Linked DNA regions of Homo sapiens: regions 1, 2, 3 and 5 are each linked to region 4. Evidence: promoter capture Hi-C in 16 types of primary human blood cells and fetal thymus (Javierre and others, 2016). All regions are on one chromosome and are shown on one strand. Each heading gives the region's core, a stretch centred on a gene start or on the middle of the fragment in contact. The rest is flanking DNA. Distances are from core to core; before and after follow the strand shown. Region 1 overlaps SHB (SH2 domain containing adaptor protein B). Region 2 has its middle 91 kb from the start of SHB. Region 3 overlaps SHB (SH2 domain containing adaptor protein B). Region 4 holds the start of SHB (SH2 domain containing adaptor protein B). Region 5 overlaps SHB (SH2 domain containing adaptor protein B).

Region 1 (2,700 bases), core at 11-2,510, 120 kb before region 4:
GCATTGTCTGCCCACAAGTCCCCTGTCTGTACATCAGCTCCCTCTGCCCTGACAGTCCTTGAGAGATGCATGGTCCCCACCCCGTGTCCACATGCTCTCTCTTCTCTAGGTGGACTCCCACAGCCTGTGTGCCTTGCCCTACCTGCCTCTGCCCATGCCTGCCGCCCTCCTGACTCTGCAGTTTGTCACTGTCTCTCTCAGGGCAAAGCCCAGAAGTTGTGGGGGGAGGGGTCAGTCGTGAGCAGAGAACACAGGCCAGTTTCACCTTCCTTGGTTTTACTGAAGCCTCTGTCTACAGGGCCGGCATGTGTGTGAGCTCTCCTGACAACCGTGTCCCTGCAGGCCGGCTCTCCCTCCCATGGCCTCTAACAGCGGTAAGTGGGACAGAGAGGATGCCAGGCAGAGGGATTCACTGCTTCTGGGGGATCTGTGCTGGCTGAAGAGCCTGGGTTTACACCCCAGTTATGTCACCAGCTCTCTATATGTCCTTGGCAAATCCCTTCTTTTTCTGGACCTCAGTTTTTCTGTAAAATGGGTTTAGGCATTCTTTTGGGTCCCGTCCAGCAATAGCACCCAACTAAAACATGCTTTTCTTATTTCTGGGCCTGCCCATCCTGACAGAAATGCCTCACAGGTCAGAAAGACCTGAAAGTTTCCAAAGCTGCGATAGGCAGTAACACCACCTCTTCCCAGTGCTCCTCCTAGACTTTGTGCAACACCCAAACTCAGGCCCACACAAACCGCAAGCCAGAGCTAGGTCATGCTCACAGTGGCAGAGAGTCATGGGCTGGTCACAAGTCCTGGCCCAGCCACTTGGGCCAGCCACACCCACCTCCGTGAACCTGTTTACTCATCTGCAAATTGGCGACGATATGTTCCTCAAAAAAATCAAAGGACCATCGTCGTGGGCTTTGAGAGCAGGATGAGGCATGCTAGGAACTTCGTACCACCCCGGCTCACAGCAGATGTGAAAGCTTTCTTGGATAGTTAATACAAAATCCTAGAAAAAGGCCCCTCATCTTCTGGAAGGGCAGCAACAGTGAACATAAAAACTCCTCTGTATCCCAGGAGAATAGGATCAAATTGAAAAACCCAGGCCTAAAATAACGTGTGCTGGCAAGTTTCCCAGGGGACACTGGCGGGTTTTTCTGCCACAGACACGGTGGCCGGCTGCGCTCGCAGAGGCTGCCGAGGAGGGCTGGGGGTGCTCGGGGCGGCACTCACCTCAGGGAGAGGGAGTAGTCATGCTTGCTGGTCTGGCTGTTCCGGACAAGGTAGCTACACTCCTTGCAGAGTCGCAGCAGGTTCTCGGCGTCTCCTCTGCTGATGGCTCCGTGATACCATCTGTGGAGAGGGCAGAGAGTGGTCAGAGCCCAGCGCGATGGGATTCCCATGGCCCTGACCTGCCTTGGGAGACTCAGCACCCGCAGAGAGCCTCCCTGTACAAGCAGGCATGCACTGGTTCATTCCATGGGTACCCACTGCCCGCCTGCTGCTGCCGGGTCCTGGGGAGAGCACAGTGAACAAAACCCAGTCTCTTTTCACGGGAAGCTTATGCTCTGGTGCAGGGAGTCAGGCCACAGACACTCAAGTCATCACAGAGCACAGTGTGAGGACAGGCATCATGGAGATGAAGTGGCATAGGCTCATGGAGCTGGGGGCTGGTGAGGGACTATTTCAGGCAGGGTGGCCAGGGAAGCCTTCTCAAGGTGAGGTGGCTCACGCCTGTAATCCCAGCGCTTTGGGAGGCCAAGGCAGTTGGATCACCTGAGGTCAGTTCAAAACCAGCCTGGCCAACATGGCGAAACCCCATCTCTACTAAAAATACAAAAATTAGCCGGGCGTGGTGGTGGGCGCCTGTAATCCCAGCTACTCAGGAGGCTGAGACTGGAGAATCACTTGAACCTGGGAGGCGGAGGTTGCAGTGAGTTAAGATCATGCCACTGCACTCCAGCCTGGAAGACACAGCAAGACTCCATCTCAAAAAAAAAAAAAAAAAAGAAAAAGAAAAAAGAAAATGGAAAAAAAAGAAGAAAGAAAAAAAAAGTGACATTTCAGTGCAGACCTGCAGGAGGCAAGGAGGGAAGCCAGAGAGGAGCTTTCTTGGTAGACAAATCAGCAGCGAAGGCCAAGGCAGAAGGCTGCCTAGCGTATTCTGGAAACAGCTAGGGGCCAGCATGGACAGAAGCAGCAAGGGGAAGGGGTGTGCAAGACGTCCCGAAATGGGGCTGCAGCAGGGGCTTTTCTCTGTTTGAGCAACATGGAAACCATCAGAGGGTGCTGATGGGAGGGCCACGCTCTGACTCAGGGATGTGTGCAGACATGGATGGTGGGCAGGGAGGTAGCTGTCCATGCTCCTGCCAGACGGCTCTAGCACCACTTGGGCATGTGGGAATCCCAGCATTACTGCTCCCAGATGCCATGCATGCCAGAGGAGGGCAGGCGGCAGAATCTGAGGGGAGGAGTGCCGTGCAGAGGGCCCGACTCATCCCTCATCTCCCATCAGAGGAGGAAATGGGAGCAATGCTTTTCTTTCTTTTTTTTGAGACAGGGTCTCACCCCGTCACCCAGGCTGGAGTGCCGTGGCGCGATAATAGCTCACTGCTGCCTCAAACTCCAGGGCTCAAGCAATCCCCCCAACCCCCAGCCTCCAGAGTAGCTGGGACTACAGGTGCGTGCCACCATACCTGGCTATTTTAA
Region 2 (2,700 bases), core at 13-2,512, 91 kb after region 4:
AACTGCGTTTGGATGGCCCCCAGGGGTCTGAGCAAGAAGCGGGGCAGCCATGACCACAAGGGACAGTGGCCCTGAGAACTGGACTGTGTAAGCCTGGGGGCTTTCTGTAACATATAAGGGAGGTGGAGGGACTGCTTGTCGACCATGGACATGGGTGGGCAAACTGGTTTTATTATGGAAAGTGTGCAATGGTCCTTGCATCCCCGGAGCTGTGGAGTAAGCCTCAGGCCTGTTACTGATGAGTGGGGTGAACAGGATTAACACCCTTGGTTTGAAGTGGAGTGGGAATCTACCCCGGGGCATCAGACTAGACTCAGACACCATCAGATGCACCAGGAAGGAAGGATGCACCATAGGAAGGCTGGGAGGGAGGTTGGCAAGAGGTGGCAGGGGCCCTGAATGTCACACTAATGAGCTAATCCTGACAGCACTGGGGGAGCCAGTGATGATGAAAGCGGGAAAAGGCCTGGCCTGACATGGGCCAGGTGCACCTCCTGGAGTGTGGCCCTTGGGAGGACACTTCCACAGCAGGGTGTGGCCACTCAGGCTGCCTGGTCGTCCACACAATGGCTGCTGTCTACTGGGGGCTTTCTCTTCCAGACTCTATGCTAGATGCTTTACAAGTATTATTTTATTTCATTCTCACAATAATCCTATGAGGCAGATACCTGATCCATCCCCATTTAACAAATGAGGAAACTAAGCAGAGAGAAGTTAAGCTGCTTCTTAAAAGGCCCAAAGTCCCCCAGCTGGTGACAGCAGGACCATCAAGCTCCTAACTCATCTTTTCCATCAAGGCACCTGGGCCACTCGATAACACCAGAATGAAGGCTTTGAGTAATCACCTGTTCCCTACTCTCCCATTGTACAAATGGGAAAACTGAGGTGAGGGAGCTTGATCAAGGTCACTCGGTAAGCTAGACGTGGAACTGGAAGCTGGTCCAGATGTCCAGGTCAAGGCTCTCCTGACTCCTCTCAAGGGTGGCTGTGCCTGGGGATGCAGCAAACAGGTGGGATACCTGGACATGGTGCTGGCCAGAGTCCAACCCAGCACCTCCATCCTCACCCAGACCTCAGCCACCAGTACATTTGTGGGCAGAGCCCACAGGATCCTCCTGAAAACACCATTTCTTGGTCACAAGCTATTTTATGATTGAATTTTTCAAGATGTCTATTAGGAAATGTTTTATATATATATAGAACAATATTTGTAATGCATATATTCATTGCAAAACATGATAGTAAAATTAGCACCCATGAGCTCACCATCCACTTTTGGAACTAGAACTTTCCTGGTACTCTTGCATGTGTCTGGGTACCTCTTTCTTATTCTAGCCCTCACCTCCCCTACAAATGACCACAACCCAGGCTTTGGTGTTTATGATTTCCTGGCTGTTTTGTGATAGTTTTAGCACATATATTCATATTCCAAAGCCATATATTATTTACTTTTATTTGCATTTGAACTTTATAAAAAAATCATACTGTTTGATATTACAATAAAATATTCACAGTCTTCTGTAAATTACTTTTTTTCACCTAACGTTGTTTCTAAAATTCATCCATGTTGATGCCTGTAGCTTAGTTCATTCATTTTCCCTGCTGTGTAATATCTCACTGTGTAAAACACCACGTATTATCTATTCTTTTGCTATTAGGCATTTGGTTTGCTTCTAGTATTTTGCTATCATGAAACGCTACTATGAACATTCTTGGTCATGCCTCCCAGGGCGCATGGAAGAGATTCTCAAAGACATACCTAGGAGTGGGGTTGCTGGATCATATGACGTGTGCGTATCGAACCTTACAAGTTAAAGCCAGATCAGGAAGGGCTCCCACCTTCATTGTGTGGTTCCCTGGCTCTTCCACCTTGTGATCTCTCTCTAGCGCCCCCTGTTGGCAGAGGCTAAGAGATCGTCAGCAGGCCAAGCAGAATATTAGTGTCCCAGCTGTCATCATAAAAGGCAAATTTAGAGGGGATAGGGTTAGAGATGAGAGCCATAGCACCTAATTTAGAAATATGTGATCACCCCACCAGTGAGTAAAAAAAACTGGGCCAATGTGGCCTGAAGGTCGCCAGCTTAAAACCTCTGCAATGTGGCCTGATTTCTTACTGATCTCCACTTTGTACCCTCTGCTCTTGCCACAGGGAATGTCTCCTCCTTCCCTAAATGTGGTGCTCTTCCACGCCCATTTATCCTTTTCTCTCAATCTCAATTTTCTTTCCCACCTGGCACACTTTGCTCCCTGTTCAAGTCCTTCCTGTTGCTGAAACCCCATTTCAAATGCTGCTTCCTTCGTCATTTTTTTCTGATCTCTCCAGCTGGAGGTAATAAAGATATCCTTCTCTTGAGTTCCCCAGCTCCATATCTACCCTCTCTCTGGGCAACAAGCAGTGTTCACTTAGCATCACTGTTGTTTGGTCTATGGCTCATCTCCTCAATCAGAATTTTATTTTAAGAAAAGCAATGCAAGTAAGGGCATAGAGGAAATAATCACTCATATCACATCGCTGACACTGATACAACTTTTAATATATCCCTTTCCAGTTTCCCTGTGCACATACATTGGTATATGTAGTGCACATGTAATGTTGTATCTAATTTTTTAAAATATAAATGGGATCTCTCTGTGACACCCATGCTGGAGTGCAGTGGCAGGATTATGGCTCCCTGCAGCCCAATCGCCTGAGTTGAAGTG
Region 3 (2,700 bases), core at 14-2,513, 70 kb before region 4:
AAAGTACTGCTACCCCAAGTTATCTCATCTTTGTGGTTGGCCTTCTGGGCTGTCCAGCTCCACCACCTCAGGACTGGAACCCTGTACCTCTCACATCACAGAGACACGGAGGCCGAGGCACTCTGCTCCATCACCCCAGGGCAGATGGCCAGCTTATCAAACAACAGCTGTCCAGGGCGACAGCAGCTTCTCACTGTGTGACAAGGGCAAGTGGCAGAAAGGACAACAAGGCCCTGGGGGCCTGAGGCCCAGGAGGAGACCCTGCTAAGGGGCAGAGGGCCCTGGGATGGGATGGGGATGAACAAGAGTGATGCTTCTTCCTGGCTTGTGGTACCCACTGTGTCCAACCGAGCAAGCAGAGGCAGTGGCAGGACAGCCCGTGTGACAGGCACTTGCTGCATTCTGCTGTGGTGGAGCTGCTTTCTCTTGTAAAGTGCCGCCGTGCCCAACTGCCTGCTTGTAAAGGGGAGCGCGACGGGGATTTACAGCATTCCTGTTGCTCTGAGCTCTGAGTTACGATTCCAAGGCACCAGTGGCCGGGAGCAGGCAGCTTGGAGGGAGGAGGGAGGAGGGAGGGAAGCACTAGGGCCAGGGCCCCAACACAGTACTGAGCTGGACCGCTATCCTGCTGGCCTGGGCTTCCTGACCACCAAGGACTCCATAAACGGTAAACTTCCCAGAACTGCAGGCGCCCCAGAGACTCACAACCTCCCCCACCACCCTCAGGGCCAGATACATGGTCTCTGCATCGCCTGTTTTCAAATCCAGGAAAGCACATGTTCTGATGGTCTCAAAATCCTATTTTGTTTATTTATTTAAAGACAGGGTCTGGCTCTGTCACCTAGGCTGGAGTGCCGTGGCACGGTCTCAGTTCACTGCAACCTCCACCTCCTGGGCTCAAGCAATCCTCCTGCCTCAGCCTCCCGAATAGCTGAGACTACAGGCACACGCCACCACGCCCAGCTAATTTTTGAATTTTTAGTAGAGACGGGGTTTCACCATGTTGCCTAGGTTAGCCTCAAACTCTTGAGCTCAAGCTATGCACCCTCCTCGGCCTCCCAAAGTGCTAGGATTACAGGTGTGAGCTGCCCTGCCTGTCCTCGAAATCCTATTTTGAATGCTTATTTTTCAGGGACAAACAGGAAATCCAAATGATTAATATGTTTGCAGCCATTAAACTGACTTCAAAGGCAAGGATGAGATGGAAGCAGAGGAAAGGCCCATTTTTCATCCAGTTTCAACCAGCTCTTCCCAAGAGCCAAGCTCTGTGCTAGGCTCTGGGGAACCCACTGTGAGTCACTCAGGCCCTGCCCAGGCTGCTGGAGGAACTCAAGAGCAAGGCAGAACAAGAGGGAGGAAGTCCCTGCGGGATCACAGAGCCCTGGGGAGCCCCTCAGTGAGGAGGACAGTGAGCGTTTACACAGGAAAGCAAGTGGGTGATGGGGTGCTGCTGGACCCTGGGAACCCTATAGGGTGTGGGATTTGAGGAAGGCCTGGAAAGTCTGGGCTCAGATCTGAGGAACCCAGTGGAGATCTCTGAGCAGGAAAGTAACATGATCTAGCCAGGCCTGGGAAACTCATCAGGGGACAGTGAGGAGGGATCTGTGAAAGGCTGAGACTAGCAGGCGAGCTGATCTCACTCTGTTCTCAAACCTCCTAGCTTCTCTCCTCCCTGAGGTCTCTCTCCTGCAAGGGGTGAAGGAAGCCTGCTGCAGACTCGGGGTGACCAGGAGCTCAAATGGCTGCTCCACTTTATTCAGCTGATGCACATGCAAAATGACAGCTGTTTCAAATACACTAAAAAAAATTATTTAAAGGTATATATGCTACAATTAGGCCCAATTCGAAAGTAGGCTTCTGTGGAAAGATATCCCCTAGGGAGGCTAGTGTGACTTGAGCTCACAAACAGGTTTCTGGAGTGCTGAGTGGAAGCTGCAGACACCAAGCGCCGCATACTGAGTGGAGGTCTGACAGAGACTGGGGACAAACAAAGGCAGCCGAGGCAGCAGCCCAACCACCAGCAGCACGTGGGAGGCTTCTGTGTTCTGGGAGATTGTGTCCCTGTGTGCATCCAGCGTGTCTTTGTGTGACTGCCACCACTACCAGGACAGGTTAGCACTAAAGTCACCTTAGGATCTGGCTGAAGCCTTGACTTCAGAGATGGAGAAACTGAGGCATGCCTTGTCCAAGCTCAAACCGGCTGTCGGAGGAGCTGCAATTCACTCCTGCAGCCTCCAGCTCATGACTCTCTCCACTAGTCACCCCATGCCCTCTACCCCCAGCCCTGTTCTATTTGGCCATTCAGAGATTTACAAGATTCCAGTATGAATCACAGCTTTGTGAAGGCTGACAAGAAGAGCCACGAGGCTGGGGCACCACACCTGAGTGGGTGGTTTCCATTCCTTTCCACAGGCCCAGGGCTGGGTCCTCAGGACTTGCACAGGTAGCTTCAAGGAGACAACAGAACGGATGTCCATCCCTCCCACAGGCAGTGGAGAGAGAAAAGAGAGGGAGCGAGAAGTCAGCGAGAATTGCTGCTGCTGGCAGACCAGGCCAGGCCAGACCACAGCTTGAACAACTGAAGGAGACCCCAGGCCTAAGCTCTTTGCTAAAGCAGGGACTCTCTAACCATGGGACCATCTGTCCCAGAGCCATGGAGCCATGTATTACAGTGCAAGTTCTCGGGCTTCAGTGAGGGCC
Region 4 (2,700 bases), core at 50-2,549:
CCTTGTCCTTCTTGCCGGCCCCGCTCTCCTCCGCGGCTGAGGCGGCGCACTTGTTGAGCAGTTTCTTGCCTCCGCAGGCCGTCGGGCTCCAGGTGCGGCCGCCCGCGCAGGCGCCCCCCAGGGGGTCCCCGGCCCCACCGCCCGCGGCGCTCTCCACTTTGATGAGGCGGTGCTTGGGGGAGATGTAGCGCACCTCGGCCGGCGTGGCGGGCCGCCGCTCGCTGCTGCTGCGGTAGAGATGCGGAGAGCCGGAGGACGAGGACGAGGACGCGGCGGCCCCCGCGCCCGAGGAGGCGCAGCAACAGCCCGCGGCGCCCGACGCGGACGAGGCCGAGAAGGCGCGCTGGACCCCGCCTGGCTCCCCGCTGCCGCCGCAGTAGTCCAGGCGGCACATGGCGCGCAGTTTGCGCAGCGACGAGCCAGGCCCGTTGTAGGGGTCCTCGAAGTCTCGCTCCTTCTGCGCGCGGTAGGCGCGGATGAGGTCGCTGGTGCTGCCGCTGTCGTCGGGCAGCGAGCCCGAAGAGGCTGAGAAGCAGGAGGCGGTGGCCGGACCGCAGGACGCCGAGGCGGCGGAGGAGGCCTGCGGCACGGCCTGGGGGGGCTGCGAAGGCCGCTCGCCTCGGCGCCGCTGCTCGCGGTAGTCTGGCCGCGGCGGCTGCGGGGGGCTCTTGGTCTTGCTGTTGCCCAAGCTGAAGTACTTGTTTAGCCACTTGGCCATGGCGAGAGGCCGCCTAGGGCCGCGGCGCGGGAGCCCGGTCCGCCGCCGCGGCCATTCGGGGGGCAGCGCTGCGGCGCAGGTCCCTCGGCGCCCCGGCCCCGGCGGGGGGCGTCCGGGGCGCCCGCTCCCGACGCCAAGTTCAAGTTCTTGCCGCCGCCGCCTCCTGCCGGCAGCTCTCTGGCTCCGGCGGCTGCAACACCTCCCTCCGCCTAGCGCCGCCCAAGCTAGGAATCTCGCGCCCCTCGTGGGCGCGTCTCATGGGGTCCCGGCCCACGCCCGGGGGAGAGCGGAAGGTCCGAGCGCTCCACGCCGCGGACCCTTTGGCCGTACGCCCCTCGCCGTGGATCGCGCTCCTGCCCCGTCGGAGCCGCAGCCTCCGCCTTGGCCGGGATCCGCGGCTGCCGCGGGAACTTCTCGGCGTCCTCGGCTCCCTTCTTCCTTCCTGCGAGCGCTGGGGAGAGCTCGGCCCCGCAGCGGAGGAGAATGCGGCCGGGAGAGACAGCGAGCGACGGAGGAAGGCAGCCGGCGCCCGCCGGAGCCCGCGCGCCCGTGCCCGTCCCGGCGGCGCCTGTCGCTGCCACTGCCGCCGCCTCCCGAGCCGCCGCGTGTGTGACACTCAGGCCGCCAGAGCCCGCCCCGCGCCGCCGCCCCGCCCCCCCGGAGCCCGCTCGCGCGCCCCGCCCCCCGCCCGCTCCCGCAGACCCAGCACCGCCCATCCCCGCGAGCCTGGCCCCGGGCCGCGGCCCAAGCCCCGCCCCCCTCGCGCCCGGGGCCGGGGTGGGCGCACCTCTCCGCTCCTGCACACGCCACCTCCCGCGGCTGCCCTGGCGCCAGCACCAGGGTCTTGCCCCAGGGCGCTGGGGTCCCGCCGCGCAGCCGGCTCCACCTAGCTTGCAGCTCGCCGCCGCCTCGGGCGAGAGGTTGCCTGGCGGAGCCTGCTACGCGCAGAGGCCAAACCTTTCCGCAGTCCCCCGGGACCCCGCGCGTTGTTCACTCCAGGGATCCCCCTGTCGGGGTTGAGGAGGGAGAGTGGATTAACACGGAACCTGTCTAGTTTACAGCGTGGCCCGTGTGGAGGAAATGCAGTGCCTAGTGCCCTTAGGGACAGAGTGGCTGTCCCTCTTCCTTAAAGGGACAGACTCCGGTTCAGCCCCGTGCGCCAGGTCTTCGGAGGAATCTTTATGCTAATGAGTGTATTAGCAGTCCAGATGACGGATGTGGTCGGGATAGGCGGTGGGAGCCGGGCCCAGCACCAATCCGAGAGCAAGGCTAGGGGAGGTCGGAATGTTTGCTTACCTTTTCACCTCTGAGGAAGTCGAGGCTTTAGCCCTGTTCGCTGCCAGCCGGCGGGGAGCAAGTTGTGGGAACATTTAATGCCTTATGTTGTAGGAGCTGGCAAGGATCCATTTAATACAGGACCTCGGCCGGGTGCGGTGTCTCACGCCTGTAATCCCAGCACTTTGGGAGGCCGAGGCGGGTGGATCACGAGGTCAGGAGTTTAATACCAGCCTGGCCAAGATGGTGAAACCCCGTCTCTACTAAAAATACAAAAATTAGCCGGGTGTGGTGGCGGGTACCTGTAATCCCAGCAGCTACTCGGAAGGCTGAGGCAGAGAATTGCTTGAACCTGGGAGGCAGAGGTTGCAGTGAGCCGAGATCACACCACTTCACTCCAGCCTGGGCGACAGAGGGAGATTCCGTCTCAAAAAATAAATACAGGACCTCATTTTACAGATGGAGAAACTGAGGCCCAGAGGAAAGTCACACAGGTGGACTTGGATGCCAGTTCCTAAGTCGGGTGGCACCATAATTATGTCTTTTCCAAGAGTCTCTTCTTTGCGATTTCAGATCATCCTTTGATTATTAACCAAAATTGAGGAAACAGTCCCAGGGAGTGGCCTGATTTGGTCAGTGTAACTTTTCCTGGGATCTGCACCCAGGGGAGGTGGCATGCTCCCTGTTGAGAGGGAAATGCTGCCTAA
Region 5 (2,700 bases), core at 84-2,583, 88 kb before region 4:
AAAAATGTAGAACCTTAATTTTAAAAATATTTTATTGCCAAAAACTGCTTACAATCATCTAAGCCTTCAGTGAGTCATCTTTTTGCTGGTGGAGGGTCTTGCTTTGATGTTGCCGGCTGCCGACTGATCAGGGTGGTAGTTCCTGAAGGCTGAGGTGGCTGTGGAAAATTTTTTATGCCCCTCCCCCCAGCTGTGGGAATTTCTTAAAATGAGACAATAAAATTTGCCACATAGATTGACTCTTCCTTTCACGAAAGATTTCTCTTAGCGAAAGGCTGTTTTATAACATTTTACCCACGGCAGAACTTCTTTCAAAATTGGAGTCAATCTTTTCAAACTCTGCTGCTGCTTCATCAACTAAGTTTATGTACTATTCTAAATCCTATGTTGTCATTTTAACAATGTTCCCAGCATCTTCATCAGGAATAGATTCTATCTCAAGAAAACTGTCTTTGCTCATCCATAAGAAGCAACTCTTTATTTGTTCAAGTTTGATCATAAGATTCCTGCAATTCAGTTACATCTTCAGACTCCACTTCTAATGCTAGTTCTCTTGTTATTTTCATCATATTTGCAGTTACTTCCTCCACTGAAGTCTTGAAGGCCTCAAAGTCATCTGTGAGGACTGGACTCTTCTTCCAAACTCCTGTTAATGTGGCTATTTTGACCCCTTTCATGAATCACAAATGTACTTAATGGCTTCTAGAACAGTAAATCTTCCCCAGAAGGTTTTCAGTTTACTTTGCCCAGGTCCATCAGAGGAATCACTATCTCTGGCAGCTATAGCCTTATGAGATGTATTTCTTAAATAATAAGACTTCAAAGTTGAGATTACTCCTTGATCCATGGGCCGCGGAATGGATGTTGTGTTAGCAGGCATGAAAACAACATTCATCTCCTCGTACATCCCCAGCTGAGCTCTTGGGTGACCAAGAACAGTGTCAATCAGCAGTAGTATCTTTAAAGGAATCTTTTTTTCCTTAAAGTTGGTCTCAAAAGTGGGCTTAAAATATTCAGTAAACCATGCTGTAAACAGAGGAACTGCCATCCAGGCTTTGTTGTTCCATTCACAGGGCACGAGCAGGGTAGATTTAGCATAATTCTTAAGGGCTCCAGGATTTTTCAGAATGGCAAATGAGCACTGGCTTCAACTTACAATCACCAGCTGCATTAGTCCCTAACAAGAGAGGCAGCCTGTCCTTTGAAGCTTTGAAGCCAGGCATTGACTTCCCTATGGCTCTGAAAGTCCTAGATGGCATCTTCTTCCAATAGAAGGCTGCTTTGTCTACACTGAAAATCTGTTGTTTTGCATAGCCACCTTCATCGATGACCTCAGCTAGATCTTCTGGATAACTTGCTGCAGTTTCTACATCAGCACTTGCTGCTTCACCACACACTTCCATGTTATGGAAATGGCTTCTTTCCTTAAACCTCAGAAATCAACCTCTGTTAGCTTTTCTGAAGCTTCCTCCACTCTCTCAGCCTTCACAGAATTGAAGAGTTAGGGCCTTGCTCCAGATTAGGCTTTGATTTAAGGGAATTTGTGGCTGGTTTGAGCTTCTATCTAGACCAAACTCTCTCTCTAATAGCAACAAGGCTGTTTTGCTTTCTTTTCAATTGTGTATTCGCAGGAGTGACACTTTTAATTTTCTTCAACTTTTCCTTTACATCCACAACCTGGCTAACTATTCGGTGCAAGAAGCCTACCTTTTGGCAGATCTCGGTTTTTGACATGACTTCTGCACTAGGCTTATTTCCAAGATTTTGGTTTAAAGTGAGAGATGTGTGACTCTCCCTTTCCTTTGAACATGTAGAGGCCATTGTTGAATTATTAATAGGCCTGATTTCAACATTGTTGTGTTTTACAGAATAGAGAGGCCCAAGGAGAGGGGAAGAGATGAAGGAATGGTCAGTCAGTGGGGCAGTCAGAACACACATAACATTTATTAAGTTCGCCATCTTCTGTGGGTGCAGTTTGTGGTGCCCCAAAACAATTACAACAGTAACATCAAAGATCACTGATCACAGGTCACCGTAACAGCTATAATAATAAAAAGGTTTGAAATATGAGAATTACCAAAATGTGACACAGAGACACAAAATGAGCACACGCTGTTGGAAAAATGATGCTGATAGACTTACTTGAAGGAAGGTTGCCACAAACCTTCATTTTGTAAAAAAAAAAAAAATGCAATACCTGCAAACCACAATGAAGCAATGCACAATAAAATGAAGTATGCCTAAACATTTTATTATGGAGAGTCTCAAAATCTGTATTTTGAAAGAAGATGGGCCAGATGTGGTGGCTCACGCCTGTACTCCTAGCGCTTTGGGAGGCCAAGGGGGGTGGATCACCTGAGGACAGGAGTTCGAGACCAGCCTGGCCAACATGGTAAAACCCCGTCTCTACTAAAAATACAAAAATTAGAGGGGTGTGGTGGTGGGCACCTATAATCCCAGCTACTGGGAAGGCTGAGGCAGGAGAATTGCTTGTACCCAGGGGGCGGAGGTTGCAGTGAGCTGAGATTGCGCCACTTTACTCCAGCCGGGGCAAAAGAGCAAAACTCCGTCTCAAAAAAAATGGATAAGTAGGCCGGGTGCAGTGGCTCACACCTGTAATCCCACCACTTTGGGAGGCCGAGGCGGGCGGATCATGAGTTCAGGAGATTGAAACTATCCTGGCTAACATGGTGAAACCCC

The links. Contacts are between HindIII fragments. The CHiCAGO score rates a contact against its expected background, and 5 or more counts as called.
Region 1: a contact is called between a fragment that was not itself captured here and the fragment with the promoter of SHB in region 4, in 8 of 17 cell types (M0 macrophages, endothelial precursors, M1 macrophages and 5 more). The highest score is 12.9, in M0 macrophages.
Region 2: a contact is called between a fragment that was not itself captured here and the fragment with the promoter of SHB in region 4, in 1 of 17 cell types (endothelial precursors). The highest score is 5.5, in endothelial precursors.
Region 3: a contact is called between a fragment that was not itself captured here and the fragment with the promoter of SHB in region 4, in 5 of 17 cell types (M0 macrophages, monocytes, M2 macrophages and 2 more). The highest score is 9.6, in M0 macrophages.
Region 5: a contact is called between a fragment that was not itself captured here and the fragment with the promoter of SHB in region 4, in 3 of 17 cell types (monocytes, M0 macrophages and fetal thymus). The highest score is 6.4, in monocytes.

The regions. Positions count from the first base shown.
Region 1 is chr9:37,947,411-37,950,110 of GRCh38, forward strand. It overlaps SHB (SH2 domain containing adaptor protein B), which reads right to left. Exons shown (of 6, transcript NM_003028.3): 5 at 1,225-1,344. Among named protein-coding and RNA genes, the nearest start is that of SLC25A51, 45 kb to the left of the region's middle. The HindIII fragment of the contact is 577 bases long and covers 973-1,549 here.
Region 2 is chr9:38,158,921-38,161,620 of GRCh38, forward strand. No RefSeq gene overlaps it. Among named protein-coding and RNA genes, the nearest start is that of SHB, 91 kb to the left of the region's middle. The HindIII fragment of the contact is 4,001 bases long and covers 1-2,700 here.
Region 3 is chr9:37,997,653-38,000,352 of GRCh38, forward strand. The region is part of intron 2 of SHB (SH2 domain containing adaptor protein B); the gene reads right to left. Among named protein-coding and RNA genes, the nearest start is that of SHB, 70 kb to the right of the region's middle. RefSeq lists an enhancer at 26-527. The HindIII fragment of the contact is 7,612 bases long and covers 1-2,700 here.
Region 4 is chr9:38,067,928-38,070,627 of GRCh38, forward strand. SHB (SH2 domain containing adaptor protein B) reads right to left here and starts at 1,300. Exons shown (of 6, transcript NM_003028.3): 1 at 2-1,300. The coding sequence starts at 718. RefSeq lists an enhancer at 1-540 and silencers at 431-480, 901-1,710. The HindIII fragment of the contact is 5,108 bases long and covers 1-2,700 here.
Region 5 is chr9:37,979,920-37,982,619 of GRCh38, forward strand. The region is part of intron 2 of SHB (SH2 domain containing adaptor protein B); the gene reads right to left. Among named protein-coding and RNA genes, the nearest start is that of SLC25A51, 77 kb to the left of the region's middle. The HindIII fragment of the contact is 257 bases long and covers 1,206-1,462 here.